Linked DNA regions of Homo sapiens: region 1 is linked to region 2. The links are contacts of gene promoters, found by promoter capture Hi-C in blood cells and fetal thymus (Javierre and others, 2016). All regions are on one chromosome and are shown on one strand. The core of a region is centred on a gene start or on the middle of the fragment in contact, and the rest is flanking DNA. Distances in the headings are between cores, read along the strand shown. Region 1 has its middle 3.0 kb from the start of SEC22C. Region 2 holds the start of ENTPD3-AS1 (ENTPD3, EIF1B and MYRIP antisense RNA 1).

Region 1 (4,424 bases), core at 221-2,720, 2.1 Mb before region 2:
TAACATGGTGAAAGTTAGGGAAGACGCCCAGATGAGAAACAAAAAGAACAGTGACAAGGCTGCTACAAGCATGCAGGCCAGAGATAGTGGGAGCAATGAGAAAAGAAGTGTGTGCATTTGAAAGACATTAGAAGTAGATTTGGCAGGCCTTAGTGATCAAGTGGGGAGGGAAAGAAAAGGGAAATTAGGGATGCCTTCTGGGGTTCTGGGTTAAGCAACTGAGAAACTGGTGATGCCCCTTATGTAGGCAGGGAACAGTGGGGGAGATGCTGGAATGGAAATGAAGGTGATATATTCAGTTGTGGAAATGTACAGTGTGAGGTGATGTCAAACGATGTTGAGGCTTGTGGCTATTTGGGGCTGAAACTCAGGGACAAAGGCTAGGTTGGAGATACAGCTTTGAGAAACATCACTTGTAGAAACTGACTGGAACTATGTAGTGGATAAGACTGCCTAAGGAGAATGTGATAGTTTCTCTTATGGCAGAGGAAAAGAAGCTGCAATGGAGACTGAGGGGAGAAAGAGACTAGAGATATAGGAAGAGGAAAACCAGGAGAGTGGGGGTTATGGCTTTTTTTTTTTTTTTAAACAGTGACTGAAAAGGACATACAGGACAGCAATGACAAATGCTGTTGAAAGGTCAAGGAAGGGGTGGGTGCAGTGGCTCACACCTGTAATGCCAGCACTTTGGGAGGCCGAGGTAGGCAGATCACTTGAGGTCAGGAGTTTGAGACCAGCCTGGCTAACATGTTGAAACCCTGTCTCTACTAAAAATACAAAAATTAGCCAGGCATGGTGGCACAGGCCTGTAGTCCCAGCTACTTGGGAGGCTGAGGCTGGAGGATCACTTGAATCCGGCAGGCAGAGGTTGCAGTAAGCCTCAGTGCCATTGCACTCCAGCCTGGGTGACAGAGCGAGACTCTGTCTCAACAACAACAACAAAAGAACAAGGAAGAATAAAGACTAGGTCTTTGAGGAGGGCATTTTCAGTGATATGGTGAAACAGGTATCAGAACTGCAGGGGACTGAGAAATAATGAAAGGTGAAGGTGAAGCAATGGAGTGTTCACATATAGACCACTTTTTCCATGAGGTTTGGTTGTAAAGGGGAGAGGGGAAAGAAGGTGGTAGCTGGAAGGAGAGGAGTTGTCTGGAGCTAAGGGACATCACTTTGATGGTTGCTCTTTCTTCAGTAACGGAGGTTCCTGGGAGAGCAAGCGGGGGAGGGGGGGTTGAAGAGTGGGAGATCTGGGGAGCATGCAGGATATTTGGAAGTTGATTTTGGGGGAGAGCTGGAGAGAGAGCTGCCTTGGCAAATAGGAGCGCTGAAAGGTGTTGAGGACCTAGTTGAAGTTGACAATGTATGTAGCACTGATCTGTGTGGTTGTGAGATTTTGTCCAGCAGCACTTAGAGCCAAGAAGCAGATTCAGAGAAGACAGAAGGTTGGATTCTTCCAGGATTGTAGTGCTGCCAGATGGGTGTTACTATCCTTCTAGTTATGCCAGAAAGATAACTGTGCAAGGAATATAAGTATATTGGGAAGAATGTGATGGAGGTGATAAACCCTGAACTCTCAGCTGATGGGGAAGGAAATGAAGACTCGATGGAGCTTATAAATAAAACAAAGTAGAGGGACAAATGAACTGGAAGTTTCTGCAGGCTAGAGAAACCATGAAAGGAATTCAGAGAATAGCAGAAGGACAGATGAAAGATCAGGTGTCTGCATTTATAACTTCAGAGGTGGAGCTCTTCTGTGGTCCAGGGTGTTACCCTAGGAGTGGAGGACTGAAGAGGACTGGAAGAGAAAGACTCTGGAGTTGACTGTGAACCTGGAGCCAAAGTGAACAATGATTGGAGATGAGAGCTAGGACTTTAGGTACTACATCTCACCCCTGTTGTCCAATCTACCATGGTGCCTGAACCACACCAGTTGCACCAGTCAGAGAGTGTAAGGTCCTGTTCTAAAGCACTCGCACCACAAGTTTTGAGAGCCCAATTCCCCATATTTGTTTGTTTGTTTTGTTTTGTTTTGTTTGTTTTTTGAGATGGAGTTTCGCTCTTGTAGGTCAGGCTGGAGTGCAATGGTGCGATCTCGGCTTACTGCAGCCTCCTCCTCCCAGGTTCAAGTGATTCTCCTGCCTCAGCCTCCCAAGTAGCTGGGATCACAGATGTCCACCATCACGCCCGGCTAATTTTTGTAATTTTTCAATAGAGACGGGGTTTTGCCATGTTGGACAGGCTGGTCCCTGACCTCGTGATCCACCCACCTTGGCCTCCCAAAGTGCTGGGATTATAGGTGTGAGCCACCACACCTGGCCCCAATTCCCCATATTTGAAGAGCACTTATGCTACAGGGTTTTCAATTGCCTTTACCAACCCTGAATCTCCTGGTTTTTCTCCTTCTTTGTGCCTGTTATGACCTACCCTCATTATCAGAGACTCATTGTGGGAGGGGACTACACAAGGGTATAAATCCCAGGAGGTGGTGAACCCTGGAGGCTATCTTAGACTGTATCACAATTCTCTTCAGTTTTCATTTTGTAATTTTTCTCTGGCTATGTAAGCCCCACTTCGATTTCCGCCCATATGATGCTGACTTTCAAAAGTCTATGTCCCGGCTAGGCGTGGTGGCTCACGCCTGTAATCCCAGCACTTAGGGAGGCCAAGGCGGGCAGATCACTTGAGGCCAGGATTTCGAGACCAAACTGGCCAATATGGTGAAACCCCCATCTCTACTAAAAATACAAAAATTAGCTGGGCGTGTTGGCAGATGCTTGTAATCCCAGCTACTTGGGAGGCTGAGGCAGAAGAATCACTTGAGCCTGGGAGGCGCAGGTTGCAGTGGGCCGAGATTGTGCCACTAAACTCCAACCTAGGCCACAGAGTGAGACTCAGCCTCAAAAAAAGTCTGTGTTCAGCCCAGACCTCTACATTGACCTGCAACCTGTATATGCACCTGCTGTGTTGACATCTGTATTAGTCAAGGTTCTCCAGAGAGAGAGAACCAATGTGATATCTATATATCTACAATATAGATCTATATCTATAGATATATGGGAGGGGATTTATTAGGGGAACTGGCTCACATAGTTATGGAGGCTGAGAAGTCCCACAATAGACCATCTACAAGCTGGAGAACCAGGGAGGCTGGTAGACTGCTTCAGTTCAAGACTACCCTGTCTTAGACTTGGCCTCAGAACCAGGGAAGCTGAATGGTGTATCTCCCAGTCCAAGGCCCAAGCCGGGAGAACCTGGGGAACCACTGGTACAAGTCTTGGAGTCCAAAGGCTCAATACTTGCTAAATGAATAAATGGACGGACTCTACTACCTAATCTCCTAGAGTTAGGAGATTAGGGGAACGGGGAATTCTGATGCCAAGGGCAGAAGAGGGGTGTCCCAACTCCAGAGTAGAGAATTTGCCTTTCCTCTGCCTTTTTGTTCTATTATGTGGTGCCTGCGCATATTAGATGAGGACAGATCTTCCTTACTCAGTCCATTGACTTAAATGCCAATATCTTCTGGGAACACCCTCATAGACATACCCAGAAGTAATGTTCCCCCAGCTACCTGAGTATCCCTTAACCTAGTCAGGTTGACATCTAAAACTAATCATCGCAAAATCCTAACCAAGTCTCAAAGGTGCCTCAAATTCAACTTGTCTAAGATGGAGCTCAAGATCAATCTTATCTCCTCTTCCAGTGTTCTCCATATCTGTGAATCCCTGCACCATCCATCCATTTATCCAAGGCTGAACAGTGGCATCATCCTTGAAGCTGCTTCATCGCCCCTTCACATCCAACTCATCACCAAGTCCTATTGATTTTGCTCCTACATTTCTCTGCAGCCTTCTTAGATCTCTTTTTCTTCACTCTCACCCTAGTCCACACTCCAGCTCCATTCTCTCTTGCCCAGATGACTGCACTGGCTCCCAGGCCAGTCCCACCATAGCTCTGTTGAGACTTCTCCATTTTGATCTGCACTTTAGCAGCCAAAGTGAGTTTTATAAAATGCAATTTTGACCAGTGTTCTATGGTCCTAAACTTTCCACTATGGTCCATAAAATCCTACATGGTCCTGCCCCTTCTATTCGCTCTAGTGGATCTCACTCCACTCCTTTATTCTCTAAACTCTGAGTTTCTTTTCTTTTTGTGGTAAAATGTACATAACCATTTTTAAGTGTGCAGATCTGTGGCATTTGGTACATTCACATTGTTGTGTGATCATCACTACTATCCATTTCCAGAACTGTTTCATCTTCTCCAGCTGAAATTCTGTACCTATTAAGCACTAACTTTCCATTTCCCCCTTTCTGGGTTTCTTTTCATCCCTCAAAGGAGCTCTGCTGCCTTCCACAGAGTTCTTATATACATGCTAATCTCTCCATCTGAAACACACTTCCTCTCCCCTTTGCCTAGTTAGCCTC
Region 2 (4,440 bases), core at 1,941-4,440:
GCGTTACATTCTTTTATAGAGACAGGGTCTCCCTCAGTCGCTCAGGCTGGAGTGCAGTGGCGCGATCATGGTTCCCTGCAGCCTCTAACTTCTGAGTGAAGACGATCCTCTCGTCTCGGCCTTCCAAAGTGTTGGGATTACCGGCGTGAGCCACCATGCCCAGCCTATCTATACGTTCTTAAAATGTGTATTTCCTAACAACAGAGAGATTCTCTTATGTCATCAGTACACTTATCAAAATCAGGAAATTGATATTGCAATAGTACTATTATCTAACCTTCAGTCCTTATTCAAATTTATAAGTTGTTGCTCCTATGTTCCTTGGAGCAAATGGGAAAAAAAATTGTTTTTCCAGGCTCTTGATCTAATGGAGGATTACAAATTGCAATTATTTATCAGGTCTCTAGTCTTTAACTGATAGTTTTAGATTTAACTGTTAAATTTGTAACATGGGTTTGTTGGAGTTTTCCTCATTGGATTCAGATAGTGAATTTTTGGTAGAAATGCTATGTCCTTGGTGCATCACATCAGAATACATTCTCTCTCTCTTCACTCTCTCTCTCTCTATATATATACGCACACACAAACACTTTTTTTTTTCTTTCTTTTTTTGAGATGGACTCTCCCTCTGTCACCCAGGCTGGAGTGCAGTGGTGCGATCTCGGCTCACTGCCACCTCTGCCTCCCAGGTTCAAGCAGTTCTCTGCCTCCCGGGTTCAAGCAGTTCTCTGCCTCATCCTCCCAAGTACCTGGGATTACAGGTGCCTGCCACCACGCCCGGCTAATTTTTGTGTTTTAAGTAGAGACAGGGTTTCACCATTTTGGCCAGGCTAGTCTTGAACTCCTGACCTTGTGATTCACTTGCCTCAGCCTCCCAGAAGTGCTAGGATTACAAACGTGAGCCACTGTGCTTGGCCACACACATATACATTTTTTCGAAGAGATGGGGTCTGGCTGTGTTGCCCAGGCTGGAGTGCAGTAGCTATTCACAGGTCTGATTGTAGCCTGCTACAGCCTTGAACTCATGGGCTCAAGCAGTTCTGCTTCAGCCTCCAGAATAGTTGGGACTACAGGAATACACCACCACACATGGGTTCCCAATATTGTGGTGGTATTTTATTCTTTAGATTTTTACCCAGGCCAGTGCAGAGAGGTGTTACCTTTTATCACTTGATTAAGGTGATGATCTTTGCCATGACAGTTCCCAGATGTATTTCAAGCCTTTCCTCTAAGCTCTATGCCAGCATATCTTCCCTGAGACTGCTCTAGCAGCCTCCTAAATTCTGTCTTTAATCTGTTCTCTGCTCAGCAGTTAGAGGGATCTTTTAAGTAAGTAAATCAGATCACATTATTTCCTGTTTTTAACAGTTCGATTGCTTTTCATAATATTTGGAATAAAATCTCAACTTCTTACTCTGGCCTTGTATCATATGCTTTAATACCCAGATACACCTTATGCCATCCCTCCTTCATTGTGTTGAAGCCACACTGGTCTTGAATGGGCCAAGCTCTCTCCTCCTCCATGACCTTTATACATGGTGTCTCTCTTGCCAGGAATGGTCTACCCATTGTTAATACTCATCGTGTAGCAGTGCCAACTTATCTCTTGTATTTTTTCCTAGATATTTTTCTGAGAGTTAACCAGGCTACCACATAAAAAAAGGTTAAGTCCCCACCCTTCTTTTTCTAGCTCACCTTGTTTCCCTCAGAGTTATCACAATTGCAATTGTTTGACTTGTTTTGCTGCCCACGTAGGTGTTGTTTCGTTCCAGTTAGAATAAGTTCCATGAGGGCAGGACCTTTGCTGTCTTTTCTGTTTTATTTTCTCACCTTAGTCTGGTAAGGGGCTCAATAAATAGGTAGTGAATGAATCAGTCTTTAGGTCTTGTTGTCTTGCTTTATAATTTACAAAGCAAAAGATATGAATGAAGAAGAATGTTCATTTTAGCATTTTTTTTGCTACTATCTCCAAACTGGAAATTACCCAAAGGCCCATAAACAAGAGACTGGATAAATTGTGATAACAATCTATAGCAACGGAGTCTACAGCAACTACATGGAACAATGCGGATGAATTTCATAAATAACACTAACAAATAAGCTGACACAATATATCCTGTATGCTTTTATTTATATCAAATTCAAAACAGGCAAAACTAATCTACAGTTCTTATAAGTAATGATCATATTTACCTTTGGTGCAGGCAGCAGTGGCTAAAGGGGAAAAGGGGAGCTTCTGAGCTGCTGGCCATGTTGTTTCTTCATCTGGTGTTAACTACGGGAGTGTGTTATTATTTTTGTTTTAAATTTTTTTAGAGACGGGTCTTGCTATGTTGCCCAGGCTGATCTGGTACTCCTGGCCTCAAGCCATTCTCCTGCCTAAGCCTCCCGAGTAGCTGGGATTAGGGGCACGGGCCACCCCGCCTGGCTGAAGTGTTTGCTTGTGAAAATTCAGAGCCCTATCCATATGGTTTATGCGTTTTCTCACCAAATGTATGTTAACCTAAAAAGTTTTTTTTTAATGCAGTTTCCTGGCTGTACAACCAGAGAACTTTATTTGCAGGTCTGGTGAGGGGCAAGAATCTGCATATAAAAACAAGCTCTCAAACACACTTTGAACTTCCCCGAACACAATTTGAGAAACACTTTGGGACTCCCCCTACAGTTACAGAATTATTTTCTAAAGTACATTATCTTGTTATATCACTCCTGTTTAAAGTTGATTTTTATCCCCTATCTTACAGGATATAGTCCAAACTCCCTAGTCTGGCATTCAAGGCACTCCAAAATCTTACTCCCAAACACCTTCCTAGCTTTTTTCTCCGACCATTCTGCGTCTCTCATTCCTATTTCCCGCAGCATTTCATGCAGCTTGAGCCCCCTGTTTCCTAAAATGTGCTCCCCACAAGCATCTCGAGATCCCCATCCCAGGCAGCCCCAGGCAGTTTTTAAGTTTCTACCAAGCTCCACTATACTGGCAAGGCAACTTTCCCCAAGCAAGTCTTGTTTCCTTCGGAAGGTCGCAGGCGCCCAGGAATGAACAGGATAACTGCTAGTGGCTCCAGATGTCAGAAAACAGATGACCAGATCGAGCACGCGCAGATCTCTGGTTGGTCGGCTGTGTGCCTCCGGAAGGCCCGCCCTGCTCGTCCAATCACGGAGAGGGAGGGCACGTTGAGAGTGATGCCAGGAATCAAGATGGCCGCCTGGGACCGCTCTCAGCCCCTTCGGCCTCTACCTGAAGAGCCACGCCCCGTCTGCTACACCCAACTGATTGGTTCCTCAATCACAGAGAGGAAAGGCAACATGAGGATGACGTCAGTTACAAATATGGCGTTTTGGACGGGCTCGATAGTTTGCTTGGCCTCTACTCAAGGTGCGTCCGGACGTCCAATCACCAAGGGGCGCAGTCGGCTCTTAAATGTGGAGGCAGGGGCCTAGACACTCAGGCTTAGGGGATGTCAGCTGGTACTGTGTACGAGCTGTCCTGTAAACCGTCGCCCGTCCCCTGAAGCCGCGCCCCTCTTCTCTTGCTTGTTGCAAGGGACGGATGTGAAGGGCTGGGCGGGCGTCGAGCTTTGGGTTCTTGCAGTGGGTCATAGACCTGAGGGCACTAGTCCCGCGGCCCAGATGGGGGATGCGAGGGACAGTAGGAGCACGTCCACTTGTCCCACAGTCTCTGCGGTGTCACGAGGCCAGGACTGCCTGCCTGTAACCAGATTGGCCCCTGTATTTGTCAGCTTCAGCTGACTAGATATGTCTCAGTTTTGTTTGTTCAGACACTGGCGATGGGGGCGTCAGTTTAGCAGACAAAATATTTACCTGTAGCCCCAAAGAAAAAGAAACATAAGTCAGTACAAGAATCAAACCAAAAGCTGTGCAGAACCCTGACTTTCTTTCTTGTTCTTAATAACTAACCTTCCAGAGAAGTGACCTAACCCTAGTTATGACCAAATTGACATGGTAGCCATGTGCATAACTACCTGGCAACGTGGACAGGTGCATTTGTATTTAGGAGTGAAAAAATGTTTGTTGTATCAGTTTTTGAAATTTGCAATCTTAGGAACCCTGAAGCTGAGCAAGACTGTTCAAGCCCAGTCAGCCTAAGACCACCAGGGACAAACCTGTAGTCAGCAAAACCAGGTCTATCGATCTTTTTTAATGAGGGAGATTGCACACCAGAGACACCATGGGACATTTTACCAGGGGAAGGAAAATATAAAGTTACAGGATTTTGAGGAAGTGTAAAGTTTAGATGGAACTTAAATGAAGCAGGGTTTTAATAGCCTCAAAACAAAGCAGGACTGTGAAAAAGGGTCAACATCAGGCCTAGACTGCAGAGTGGACCCATTGTCCTGTTTTTTTGAAAACCTTTTCTGAAGCTTTGCAACTGGCTGCTTGTAAATTGAAGCTGTATCTCTGTGTTAAAGTGACTTAGGT

The links. Contacts are between HindIII fragments. The CHiCAGO score rates a contact against its expected background, and 5 or more counts as called.
Region 1: a fragment that was not itself captured here is called in contact with the fragment with the promoter of ENTPD3-AS1 in region 2 in 4 of 17 cell types (total B cells, naive B cells, naive CD8 T cells and 1 more); the score reaches 9.4 in total B cells.

What each region holds. Positions count from the first base shown.
Region 1 is chr3:42,582,748-42,587,171 of GRCh38, reverse strand. It overlaps a transcript of SEC22C not described here and a transcript of SS18L2 not described here. Among named protein-coding and RNA genes, the nearest start is that of SEC22C, 3.0 kb to the right of the region's middle. The HindIII fragment of the contact is 5,967 bases long and covers 1-4,424 here.
Region 2 is chr3:40,452,058-40,456,497 of GRCh38, reverse strand. It overlaps ENTPD3-AS1 (ENTPD3, EIF1B and MYRIP antisense RNA 1), which reads left to right and starts at 3,190. Exons shown (of 4, transcript NR_040100.1): 1 at 3,190-3,376. RefSeq lists enhancers at 3,297-3,366, 3,387-3,456. The HindIII fragment of the contact is 7,917 bases long and covers 1-4,384 here.